Linked DNA regions of Homo sapiens: regions 1 and 3 are each linked to region 2. Evidence: promoter capture Hi-C in 16 types of primary human blood cells and fetal thymus (Javierre and others, 2016). All regions are on one chromosome and are shown on one strand. Each heading gives the region's core, a stretch centred on a gene start or on the middle of the fragment in contact. The rest is flanking DNA. Distances are from core to core; before and after follow the strand shown. Region 1 overlaps SIGLECL1 (SIGLEC family like 1). Region 2 holds the start of KLK4 (kallikrein related peptidase 4). Region 3 holds the start of MIR8074 (microRNA 8074).

What was found. The method cuts DNA at HindIII sites, captures the fragments that hold promoters and counts their contacts. A CHiCAGO score of 5 or more calls a contact.
Region 1: a fragment that was not itself captured here is called in contact with the fragment with the promoter of KLK4 in region 2 in 1 of 17 cell types (non-activated CD4 T cells); the score reaches 5.0 in non-activated CD4 T cells.
Region 3: a fragment that was not itself captured here is called in contact with the fragment with the promoter of KLK4 in region 2 in 1 of 17 cell types (non-activated CD4 T cells); the score reaches 5.1 in non-activated CD4 T cells.

The regions. Positions count from the first base shown.
Region 1 is chr19:51,258,992-51,263,450 of GRCh38, forward strand. All of the region lies in intron 1 of SIGLECL1 (SIGLEC family like 1), which reads left to right. The region is part of intron 2 of LOC107985327 (a long non-coding RNA gene); the gene reads right to left. Among named protein-coding and RNA genes, the nearest start is that of LINC01872, 10 kb to the right of the region's middle. The HindIII fragment of the contact is 2,356 bases long and covers 501-2,856 here.
Region 2 is chr19:50,909,595-50,914,118 of GRCh38, forward strand. KLK4 (kallikrein related peptidase 4) reads right to left here and starts at 1,801. Exons shown (of 6, transcript NM_004917.5): 1 at 1,745-1,801; 2 at 1,084-1,155. The coding sequence starts at 1,144. The HindIII fragment of the contact is 22,926 bases long and covers 1-4,524 here.
Region 3 is chr19:51,206,494-51,210,919 of GRCh38, forward strand. It overlaps MIR8074 (microRNA 8074), which reads right to left and starts at 516; the gene lies at 436-516. All of the region lies in intron 2 of LOC107985327 (a long non-coding RNA gene), which reads right to left. LOC124904751 (a long non-coding RNA gene) reads right to left here. Exons shown (of 3, transcript XR_007067311.1): 3 at 3,548-4,426. The HindIII fragment of the contact is 4,167 bases long and covers 1-3,763 here.

The sequences.
Region 1 (4,459 bases), core at 429-2,928, 350 kb after region 2:
TGATCTAATCAAGATAAATGACAAAAGGGCCTGGGTTGCTTGGCCTGACCCCTAACTGAAGACCCAAAGTCATATGCATATTAGTAGTAAAATAGTCAGGGGATGGATAAGAGATATTTCTGGGACTCATGTGGGAGTCTTATACCTGCATTCCAAAAGGTTGGTGAAATTCTAATAGCATCTATGGTTAGATTGCGAAGACATAGGATTACAAAGTGGATGAGATTCAGGCGAAACTTTGGATGAAAATTGGAATGTTTGGACAGACTATGTAAATATGTTATGTGAATGTATTTACCTAAATGTATTATGAGGAAAGATATTGTGTCCAACTATGGAAGAGTTCCCCTACGTACTATTATGAAACAGAAGGCATGTAAATCTTCCCTTCAACCAATATTGATTGAATATGCTAAATAGGAACCAATAAGATTGCCCAAGCCCACACTAATTGTTAATTTGAAACAGTACAGGATATCTGGTGGACAAAACATGTTAGAAGCTTAACGTTTGCTTTATTTAGGCAGACTGGAGCTAAGGCCAGTGAGCACCACCCAGTGGTGAATGCTGGGATTTGGGGCCAGAAAATTTCCAATGGAGAGACAACTAGCTGCCTATTGGGCTTTGAGTCTGCCCCATCATTGAAGGATATAATAATCCTGACACCTGAAATCCTCATGATGTGTTTGTCATGTTGGAAAAACACTGTAGTAAGGAAGGCCATGCCCAAAAGAGTCTCGTAATAAAATGGAAATTGTTTATACAGGAACATGCTACCAGGGAAATGCAAGGAGGTCCTCGTTATATTTATGAACAGGTGGCTTTTTCCCTACTGAAGAGCTGCGAGATCCTATTATTACTTGAATGATGTCTATTAATAGCTCTTGATTGACCAACTAAGAGCGGTTTGATTTATGGATGGCAATTCCAAAGTGAATTAATAACATCCTGTTTGGAAGACTGGCACTCATACTGAGGAAGGCAAAAACAAGTCACTTCAGTGGGCTGAACTGCCTCCACATTTGGGTTTTTACCAATTCATGGGCAGTGGCCAATGGCCTGGCCATATGGTCAGGCAGATGGGCAATGGGAAACTGTACTATTAAAAGGATGCCTATATAGGGTACAGCCTTATGGAATTCACTATAGCCAGTATCTCAAAAGACCTGTTCATACCCCCTACAAATGATAAAATAAACAGAGAAACAGACCTCTTCCTCCCAAAAAGGCAATTAATATCCTACCTTTTATGCTGGACATTTCTTGGCAACTTTTAAAGGATTTTTACTACTTGTGTGTGCGTTCTTAAACACTTGATTTTGCCCGGTTTTTTTCAAATTTTAAAGAAATGCTCATACATTATTACTTATTTGTGTCTGGCTTTGTTCATTCAATATTTTATTTGTAAGAATGGTCCATGTTGTTGCATCTAGCATTAGCTCATAGGTTTTTGTTGCTGTGTAGTATCTCATTTTTTAAAATTCTCTGTTTACTGGCATTTGGATTGTTTACCTTTTTAGCTATTTTTAAATAATACCACTGTAAACATTTTTGCATTCCTTTGTGGCGTACATATGCACAAACATTTCTATAAAGTATACATCTGGGAGTGGAATTGAGGGTCATAGAGTATGTGTATCTTCTGCTTTGATAAATAACTTTGTTGCCCTGATTTATATTTCCACCAATAGTGTGTGAAAGTTGAGTACCACATTCTCACCAAGACTTGATATATTGTCTTGGATATGTACTGGTATCTGATGGTTTTAACAGGCATTTTGCTGGTTATTAATGAGATTTTAAATATTTTCATGGAAATTTTATTAAGATTTGTCTTATGATCCAGCTGTGGCCAATTTCTGTAAACGTTCTCTGTGTGCTTACAAAGAAATTGTATTCTGCAGTTATTGATTGCAGTATTCTCTATATATTTTTGGTCAAATTTGCTGATCAAGTTGTTGAAATCTTTATATATTCCAATAGTCTGTTTGTTCTGTCAGTTTCTGAGAGAACAGTGATTAAAATGTCACACTACTATTGTGGATGTCTGTTTCTCCTTTTATTTTTGTAGATTTTTTGCTTTATATATTTTTGGACTATGTTAGTAGGCAAACACAAATTTTAAATATATACTTTATTCCTGTTAATGTCAGCTTATCATTAGGAGATATGCCATTCTATCTTTGGTAATGCCTTTTGCTTAAAGTCTGCTTTATGGGATGTTAATGTAGGTATGTCTACATTACCTGGCTTTCTGGTTGGTATTTGCTTGGTGTATGTTTTCATTCTTTGGTTTTTTCTTTTTTTCTTTTTTTGAGACGGAGTCTTGCTCTGTCGCCCAGGCTGGAGTGCAGTGGCATGATCTCGGCTCACTGCAAGCTCTGCCTCCCAGGTTCATGCCATTCTCCTGCCTCGGCCTCCTGAGTAGCTGGGATTACAGGGGCCCGCCACCACACCCAGCTAATTTTTTGTATTTTTAGTAGAGACGGGGTTTCACCGTGTTAGCCAGGATGGTCTGGATCTCCTGACCTCGTGATCCGCCCGTCTCGGCCTCCCAAAGTGCTGGGATTACAGGCATGAGCCACCGCTCCCGGCCCATTTGGTTTTTTAACTGTCCTTTACACTTATGCTTTGGTTGTGTCTTTTGTAAACAGCATGGAGTTTGGCTTTGCTTCTTTTTTCCAATATGATGATCTTAGATTCATAACTGGATAATTTAAGCCATTTATATTTAGTTAAATCACTGATGTATTGGAGTTTAAATCTAACATCTAGGTACATGATTTCTACTTGTCCCAACCGTTCTATTCTCTTTTGTATCCCTTCTGTTTGTTTCTCTGTCTTTATTTTCAAACAAGCTTTTAAATCAAAGTACAATTTTATACAGAGAAGTATTAATACAGATAGTAAGTATACAACTCAAATTATCACAAAGGGAGCAGACCAGTGTAACCACCACTGAGGTCAAGAAATAGAACATTAACAACACCCCAAACACTCCACTCATGTACTACACCATTCATTACCCCCTTTATCCTTGCTATGTTCTGGATGCAAGCACGTTGTATGTGTTGCAAGTATGTTCTCCAGCCCTGCAACTTGCATTTGTCCTCCTTAATGGTATCTTTTGATGCAGAAATTAATTCTGATACAGTCCATTTTATCCATATTTCCTCATAGCTAGTGCTTTTTGGCCCTTTTAAAGAAATATTTCCTTACCTAAAACTTACCAAGATACTCTCCTATGTTGTATTAAAGAATTCCACTGACCAATGTGGTAGCTACTAACTACATATGGCTATTGAGCCCTTATATTATGGCTAGTCTGAATTGAAGTGTGCTGTAAGTGTAAAATATATACAAGATTTTGAAGAGTGTATAAAGAATGTACCAAATCTTAACAATTTTGTGTTGATTGCATGTTGAAATATTGGGTTAGGTTCAATATGAATAACCTAGTGAATAACCTAGGTTTCTTTCACTAGGTTAAATGAAACATCATTAAAATTAATTTTACCCATTTCTTCCTTTTTAATGTGGCTGCTAGAAAATTTAAAATTATACATGTAGTCCACATTTATAGGTCACATTATATTTCTTCACACAGCACTGTTCTAGAAAAAAAGTCTAAGGACTTTCCCAATGTCCCTAGAAGTTATTTTTATGTATGACATGAGGTAGGGGTCTTATTTCCTTTTGCTGTATGGCTGTCCAGTTATTCTGACACAATTTATTCAAAAGAGAGTCCTTTAACTTCTATGCAGTGCCATATTTATCCTAAACCAAGTGATCACATATGTATAGGTATTTTTCTAACCATATAGCCTGTCCCATTGGTATTTTTATTTATCCTTGTGTCAATACCATACTCTATGAATTACTATGTATGTATGTATGTATTTTATTTATTTACTTATTTATTTTGAGATAAAGTCTTACTCTGTAGCCCAAAGCTACAGTGCAGTGGCGTGATCACGGCTGACTGCAGCCTTGACCTCCCTACCTCAGGTGATCCTCCCACCTTAACCTTTCAAGTAGCTGGGACTACAGGTGCGTACCACCACACCCAGATAATTTTTGTATTTTTTGTAGAAACGGGGTTTTACCATGTTGCCCACGCTGGAATTACTATGGATTTTTAAGTCATGATATCCAGTAGGAATTGGAATTGATCATTTTTTTGAGACAGGGTCTCGTGCTGTCTCTTTTTTAATAGAAATTTACTGAGAACAAATTTATTAAATAAATGTCTACATGGGATATAAAAGGGAACATTGTGCCATGCTATACAATGTTACTTACACCATTCATTTCAAATTTTATGGCAAAACAATTATACTGTGGTAGGGAGATGTTGTTTTACACTTCTCACCAAACTAAACATTATCATATTTTTCCTGAGAGAATGTCAACACTTTGCTATCTTAAGTGATCACACCACTGCAATCCAGACTGGGTG
Region 2 (4,524 bases), core at 551-3,050:
AGCAGGGGCGTGGTCAGGGCTTCAGGAGCAGTCAGGACTCTTGGGGGGCCGAGTCAGGGCTGGGGGCGGGCCCAGGGGGCGGACCCAGGGCTCCTGGGGGTGGGGTTATGGTGCAGGGGTCATGATCGGAGCTTCAGGGGCTGGTCCAGGATATAGGCCTAGGGCTCCCAGGGGCGGTGATCACGGTGCAGGAGCCTGGTCAGGGATTCAGGGTAGTCAGGGCTCCTGGGAGGAGAGTCAGGGCATGGGGGTGGGCTGAGAAGGCGGGATCAGTGCTCCTAGGGTTGGGGTTACAGCGCAGGGGCGCCATCAAGGCTTCAAGAGCTGGGTTATGGCTAGAGGCAGTCTCAGAAGGTGGGACCAGGGCTTCTGGGGCGGAGTCAGGGCTCTGGGGTGAGCTCTGGAGGTGAGACTGGTGCCATCGCGGTGCAAAGCCACGGTCAGGAGGGGTTCAACAGAGGAGTCTAGGCTCATAGCAGTAGGATCGGGTCCTTCGGGGTGAATTAAAGCTCAGGGGGTGGAGTTGTTGCTGGGAGCAAGGATCGGGTCACTTGTCTGCGCAGACTGATGCTCAAAGAGTCGGTCCTGCGCCGAGTCACTCCTATCCTCTCCCAGCCTTGCCCACAGTCACACCAAGCCACAAGCCCATGCACACCAAAACACCGTTTTATAGTCCTGTGAGGTGAGTTCCTTGGGGATGGGAGAGGGGGATCTCAGGACTGAAGACCCAGGAAGCAGGCACAGATTCCCAGCAATGGATCACGCCCCAGGAAGCACAATCTCCTGCACCCTCGGCTTCCCCTGTCCCCATATCATCATTACACTGTTGTCACTCCACCAGATATTCAGAGGCACAAACTGTCAGAGTCTCACAGGTACAACCACACACCCAGGCACACTGCCACACACAAATTTACCACGATACAAGGAGTTGCAGGGGCACAGCCATGGGGGACGGATAACACGGTACCGTCTCACAGGCAGCTTTGCAGTCACAAGCAAGAGGACACTGAGTCACACCTGAACATTAACAAACACTGTGCCCCCAAGCACGGACAGACACACACACGCATACTCAGATACCTGCGACACCAAGGATGAGGTACCCCAGGAACCAGCCCCAGGGATTTCCTGCTGTGGCCATCACGTCAGCACCTGGGGATGAGGACTGAGACTTAGCCGTGTCTGGGGATCTTCAGCCCAAGTCTCTCCATCCCTCTCTTTGTCCCTCCCTTTCTTCCCTCTGGGACGTTATTAGGTAGGCAAGAGCCTAGACCATCTACCCCCTCTCCCATCCATGGACCCAGAACCTAGAGAGACAGATTTAGAGACTGAGAGAGAAAAAGAGAGAGAGAGATGGGAAAAGAGAGAGAGAGAGAGAACTAGGTAGAAAGGAAAGTTTAGAGAAAGCATCTAGCCATCTGTGAATGGGGAGAGATGGTGTCTAGCCACCCACAAACAAGCATGGAGGGAAGACACACAGAGAATCAGAGCCGGAGAGACAGAGTGCTTGAGAGATATCCTCAGAGACAGTCTGAGAGTTAGACATGGAGATATAGATTCAGAGAGACAGAGAGACCCCTAACTAGAGACAGTGACTCCTAACTAGAGACAGTGAGAGATCTGTCTAGAGAGATGTGGAGACAGAAGGCACAGAGGCTGAGAATCCAGCGACATGGAGCTGTAGGGAGAGTTGGATCATGAACACTGCAGGCTTTTAGTGGGGGACCACCAGGCCTCTTACCCGGCCACCTCTGGGCTCCTGGATTCCACTGCTGGGCTGAGCTCCAGCCTGCTGCCTCCCGCAGGGGCCTCCTTGGGGCTTATAAGCATCCTCAGCCTGGGCTGGCCTGCCCCCAGGGGATGTGTTCCAGGGGTCAGGTGCTGCAAACTTCCAGCTCAACTCTCTCAGGCTGCCTCAACTCTGACCAGGCAGTGGTTGGGGGCCCAGAAGGGGCTGGCAGCAGGGTCTAGGGACCCAGGGAGGAGACCCCTGCCCAGATCCTAGACTCCACTCTCCTTTTTCTTTCTCTCTCTCTCTCTCATTCTTTCTCTTTTCATGTTCTTATTCTCTCTCATGAGATACCTCTCTCTTGCCTGTATCTCTCATTTTCTCTTTCTCTTCTTCTTTCTTTCTCTCATTCTCTCTCTCATTATTTTTCTCGTGTTTTCTTTCATTTCCTCTCATTCTCTCCTGTTCTCTCTCATGTTCTTTCTCTTTTTAAATTAAATCTCTCTCTCTCTCTCCCCTCCTCCTTCATCCCTCTCTTTCTGTGCTTCTCCAGCAAATTTCCCCAGGTTCGTATCCAGCCTACATCACGAACTATTTTTGGAACCTTGGGCAAGTGACTGCACCCCTGTGAGCCTGTTTTTCCAACTGTAAAACTGGAGTGACCATTATGCCCCATTTCCCAAGTGGATTCAAAGAGGTAATTCAGGGAAAGGCACACAGTGCCAGGCACATTGTAGGCTCTCGGTGAGCGGGAGAACTAAAAAGTCTTCGCTCAGTGAAAAGCAGCTGAGTGCCTACCACACTCCGAGCTCTGCGGCAGGTGCTGGGGCCACAGGAGGAACCAGCAAAGTCCTCGTCACTGGGGATCGCGTCCTACCCGGGGGCACAGACCATAAAGGAAAACTGCAGGGACCAGCATATAAGGTGGTGGTCGGGGAGACTCAGAGAAGGGGAACATTTAAGCTGAGATCCCAGGGAAGAGGAGGAGGAGGGTCGCCGCAGCAGGGGCGGTTGCGGGGTGCAGGGGAGAACTTGGCTCCAGCCAGAGGAGGGCAGGGCGGGTAGGAGGGCAGGGCGGGTAGGAGCGCAGACCGGGAACCGGGCGGGCCTGCAGGAGTTTACGTACCAGGATTAAGGAGCTTGGGTTTTACTTAAGTGCAATGGATTTTAAGCACGAGGATGGAGTGACATAATCTTATTTACTTTTTAAAAACTTCCAGCTTGGAGAGTGATGGTGGGGGCGGGGCGGGGGGCAGTGGCAACAGCCCAGGTGGGAGGTGACGGGGTCAAGGGAGAAGAGAGGTGAATGGACACGGGGTCCCCTCTGCATGTGGAGCCAAGTTACTGCCCGATGGATGGAAAGTGGGGGGCCAGGAGCAGAGGGGCCAAGGATGGCGTGGAGGCTTGGTCTGCTGGCTTGCGCTCTACGGATCTTGTGGAGACGCATAGGTGCGGGAAGGGGGGTGGGGGGTGAGAGGGTGCCGTAGACCGCGGAGGGTGCACGGAGGGGCAGGCCGAGGTCAGGACTGCCGAGAAACAGCGGGGACTCATCAGGGGAGAGGTGGTGTTTACAGCCACGAGGCCGGGTGAGATCATCCAAGGAGTGGGTGGGTGTAGACCGCGGAGCCGGCGCGGGTGAGGGATAGTGCCCGCAGGTGACCGCGACGAGGCAGGAATGTCTCTGTGTCTCTCTGTCTCTCCTGGGTCTCTAACACTCTTTCCTTCTCCTTCCTTACTTCTTTCCCCCACAGCCCACCCCGTGTGTCTGTCTCTCTTTCTCTCTGGCTCTCTTTTCCTCTGCCTCTCTGGTCCCATCTCTGTCTCTCTCCCCCTTGTCTCTGTTTCTCTCACCTGCCAGACTGGAAGCATCCCAAGTGAGACCCTCCCCCAACTCTGTCCTGGGCCCGTGCGCCCCCAGATAACTCTGGGCAGGACGGGACATAGGCTGGGACCACAGAACAGGAAGCCCTGGCAGGTTTCTGTCTCTGTCTCTCTTTTCCCTGTCCCTGTCCCTTTCTCTCTCTGATCCCTTCTCTCTCGCTCTCCCTCTGACCTCTGTCTGTGACCCTCTGATCTCTGTCTGTCTCTGTCTGCCCCTGTGTGTCTCTCTTTCCTCCTGTCTCTGTCTCACCTTGCCTTCTCTCTCTGTCTGTGTCTCTGCACCTGTGTCTGTCCATCTTTCTCTGTGTCTCTCTCCTCCCATCTCTGTCTCTGTCTGTGGCTCCGCACCTGTCTCTGTCCATCTTTCTCTGTGTCTCTCTCCTCCCATCTCTGTCTCTGTCTCTCTGTCTGTCTCCGCACCTGTCTGTCCATCTTTCTCTGTGTCTCTCTCCTCCCATCTCTGTCTCTGTCTCTCTGTCTGTCTCTGCACCTGTGTCTGTCCATCTTTCTCTGTGTCTCTCTCCTCCCATCTCTGTCTCTGTCTCTCTGTCTGTGTCTCCGCACCTGTGTGTCTGTCCATCTTTCTCTGTGTCTCTCTCTCCTCCCATCTCTGTCTCTGTCTCTCTGTCTGTGTCTCCGCACCTGTGTCTCTGTCCATCTTTCTCTGTGTCTCTCTCTCCTCCCATCTCTGTCTCTGTCTCTCTGTCTGTGGCTTCGCACCTGTCTCTGTCCATCTTTCTCTGTGTCTCTCTCTCCTCCCATCTCTGTCTCTGTCTCTCTGTCTGTGTCTCCGCACCTGTGTGTCTGTCCATCTTTCTCTGTCTCTCTCTCCTCCCATCTCTGTCTCTGTCTCTCTGTCTGTCTCCGCACCTGTCTGTCCATCTTTCTCTGTGTCTCTCTCCTCCCATCTC
Region 3 (4,426 bases), core at 430-2,929, 300 kb after region 2:
CCACCACTATGCCCAGCTAGTTTTTTGTATTTTTAGTAGAGATGGGGTTTCACCATGTTGCCCAGGCTGGTCTTGAACTCCTGAGCTCAGGCGATCCGTCTGCCTTGGCCTCCCGAAATGCTGGGATTACAGACGTGAGACACCGGGCCCAGCCTGAATGTTATACTTTAAATTAGCAAATGGAAGAAATTCTTTTCTGATTTTCAAATATTACTGAAATTTTAAAGAAACAGCAGAGATGCTCAGGGTGAAGCAAGTGCTTACTGTGTGAATCCATTTATAGGAAGTTGTAAAACATGTAAAACTAGTTGATGGTGACAAATGTCAGAACACTGGTTGCTTCTCAGACTGTATGTGGAGGCAGAGATTAATATGGAAGGGCATGAAGGATGCTGTTTTCTCTGGTCAAAGAATGACCCTTATCTTGAGAGGGTTTCAGTTGTGTGAGTACATGCCAGTCTCGCCATAGGACGTCTCTGGGCTCCCATGGGCATCTTGCATAAACTCAGGAACTGGGTTCTTCTATTCTCTGCTGCCTCCCACCACCCTACTCTCAGAAGATACCTTGATTCTGGCTTAAGAGGAAATAAACACAGTGTAGTGATAGAGACCCTTTCCTGACTATAAAACTATTCACCTCATTGCAGCTGCTACCATCCCTCCTTCAACTTGGTTGTTCCATCTTACCTTGAAAAGTGACTTATGGAACAACTTGTCCAAACGTCTCCACTTTAGAGGGACACCAGTTTCCTGTGTAATTATGTTGATTGCAATGAAATACTCCTAAGAGAGGGCTGACATTCCTGCTTCCAATCAGAAAATGAGGTCATTAGGCAAACGTCCAGCAGAGAGAGTAATTAGAAAAGATGAAAACATGCATTCCAATCTATTCTGTTCTTATTATGTTTTTTTTTTTTTTTTTGAGATGGAGTCTTACTCTGTCACCCAGTTGGAGTGCAGTGGCATGATCTTGGTCACAGCGATCTTCACCTCCCAGGTTCAAGCGATCCTCCTTGCCTCAGCCTCCTGAGTAGCTGGGACTACAGGCACCCACCATCACACCTGGCTAATTTTTGTATTTTTAGTAGAGATGGGGTTTCACCATGTTGGCCAGGCTGGCCTCGAACTCCTGACCTCAGGTGATCCACTTGCCTTGGCCCTTCAAAATGCTGGGATTACAGGCATGAGCCACTGCGCCCAGCCTATGTTCTTCTGGCTGGACTGGAGGACAGTAAGGAAACAGGGCAGGGCTGATGCTTTCCAAACACAGTGGGACATAGTCCTCAGGTCAGCAGCGAGCAGGGGATGGGAACCCACCTCATCTCACTAACCCTAGCTGCCATCAGTAGAACAAAAAGTCATTAATAAAATCCAAATCCTGGAACAGCTTCAAGGAAACAAATGTCAACATTGACCAAGTCAATAAACATGTCAGTGTCTTCTGGCCAGAGATCAGCAGGCACCAGGAATAGATATGTAGTTGGGTTATTACTCATTGCAGTGAGGAACCACGAAAACCATGAGGTGTTTCAGTAAGAGAGAATTATAACTGGCTTATTATAGGATTTGGACTTGTGTTAGGTGATTTGGGGAAACTTTTTAAAAAGCAGTGTTTGCTTCTTTGGATGTCAGGAAGTCAGCATAATTCTAACACTGGATCTTCATACATCTAATAAAAAAGGAGAAAGAACTAGACCAAAGCTACCTTAGTCAGTTTGGGCTAGAATAAGAGATATCACAGACCGGCTAGCTTAAAAAACAAACATCTAACTTTGGGAGGCCAAGGTGGGTGGATCACAAGGTCAGGAGATCGAGACCATCCTGGCTAACACGGTGAAACCCCGTCTCTATTAAAAATATAAAAAATTAGCCGGGCGTGGTGGCGGACTCCTGTAGTCCCAGCTACTCGGGAGGCTGAGGCAGGAGAATGGTGTGAACCCAGGAGGCGGAGCTTGCAGTGAGCCAAGATCGTGCCACTGCACTCCAGCCTGGGTGACAGAACAAGACTCTGTCTCAAAAAACAAACAAACAAACAAAAAACAAACATCTATTTCTCATAGTTCTGGAGGCTGGAAGACCAAAATAAAGATGTCAGTACAACTGGGTTCTTAGTGAGGTCCCCGCTCCTGGGTCACAGATGACTGCCTTCTCACTATATCCTCACATGGGAGAGAGAGAGCTCTGGTCCCTTCCTCATTCTTACAAGTGCCATAATCCCAGCATGGGCATTCCACTTCCATGAGCTCACCTAAATCCCATTATCTCCTAAAGGCCCCACCTCCAAATATCATCACATCACATTAAGAATTAGGACATCAATACATGAATTTTAGGGTGACACCAACATTTAGTCTATAGGAAAGGCTGTGGCTGTAATTGGTAAATAATCATCAGTCTTTCCTGTTACCCTAGATGGGAAATATGTAGCCATTTTCCAATTTGGACAACATTCTTGTTTGTGTCTGTGTTAAGGCATGACTGTGCTGTGGTCTTATTCTTGTCTTGATCCATTATGCTCAAAGAATGTCCTTGTCTGGTGTTGATGTCCTGTGCAGTGATTGACAACAGGACAGGAGAATTGCTTGAACACGGAGACAGAAGCTGCAGTGAGCTGAGATGGTGCCATGGCACTCCAGCCTGGGTGACAGAGCGAGACTTCATATATATAAATCACGCCACTGCACTCCAGCCTGGCAACAGAGCAAAACTCCATCTCAACAGCCACAACAACAACAAAAGTCTATAAAAAGACTTACACCTGAGTACCATTAGTGAAAAATGGGGAAATCTCAAATGCCTATCAATAGATGAATAAATATAGGACTATAGTATATTCATACAATGGGATACTACTGAGCAATATCACACTGTGAAAACTATAGGCACAAACAACTTGGTTCAGTTTCAAAAAATATGCTGAGTGACAGAATACAGACACAGATGAGTACATTCCTTCCTAGGAAATTTTGAAATAGGCAAAAGCGACACACTATGAGAGAGAGGATCTCAGTGGTTGCCTGGCACAAGAAGTGGGAATGATGAACTGCAAAGAGGTTAGGCAAAGCCCTTGGTGTAGTGGAAATGTTGTATATCTTGATTGTGCCAGTCACAACAGGGCTGTATGCACCTGTCAAAATTCATGAAAATGAACACTTCAAGTGGGTGCACATCACCTCATGTAAATTATACCTAGTTAAGTTCATTAAAGAAACACAGTAAGACAGATTTTCTTATGTATCCTTCTACTCCATGAATGTGGTATGATATTTTACTGTTAAAAGTAAATATACTGAATATTATATTATGTGCCTATACTATCTTTTAAAATAACTTACAGCAAGATATTGTTTTATCTATTGAGGACTCACTTCCTTATATTTAAAAAGAGGATGGAAATACCTCTCTATGGTAGGTAGGATGAATGAACATTTTTATAGATACTACTGTGTATAGAGATTTTACCTGTATATGGTTGCAAATACTGATATGTCTCAGGCATTGAGGATCTCCCAGGTGTGTACCACAGAGAGTAAAATAAAAAACCATATGAGCTGAAGCTAAATTTTAATTTTGTCTGTACATTCAACTCATATTGTCTGGAAACATTATGTCTTTGGGCCTCATTTAATTATCAGAAATGTATTTTTACATGAAAGAAAATGCTAATCTCTATGGTAAGCCCCATAAAAAAATTGCTGCTGTCCCCACTGCAGGGAATGGCAACACTAATGGAAAAGAAATTTCTTCTGGACTTGTTCACAGAAGCTTTCGTTTTACATGAAAATACTACATGTTTCTTATTTTAGAGATGTCGCTGAAACATTGCAAATCAGTGTACTAACTGCCAGGGGAAAAAATCCATAGTCATACTTCTTAAAAATACCTCATATGATACCATGACATATGGCAAAGTCACCAGCATCCACAGCTGTGAAGCCAAACAGTATTTGTGTGTGGTGAACATGAGGCTATGGATGGGGAGTATCTAAAGGGGAGGGACCAGGTCAGTGGCATCTCTTCTTGTCTCCAGCCTCATTGGCACATAGATGCTCGGTATAGCTTAGGTGAATGAATGAATGAATGAATTGAATGAATGAATGACTGTCACCTTCACCACATCTAGGACCCTTCTTCATTTCTTCTGCCCCAGACACTTACATGAACCCTACAGAAACCTATATCCTGCAGGACGAACCACCCCACAGGTCAAGAAGAGGCCGTGACTCGGGCCAGGCCTGGAGTGACCAGCTGCCTGGTGTAAACAGTTGTGCACAGAAAAGCACCTCAGAGTGGAAGGACTTTAGACATGGGGTTCGCATGTCTCAGATGGCCCCGAAGGTACTGATCCAGGCTCTGGTGCTCCTGGAAGGCAAGACTCAGATTCTGCTCCATCTCCTCCCATCTCTGGGCGAGTCTCTGGCATCTC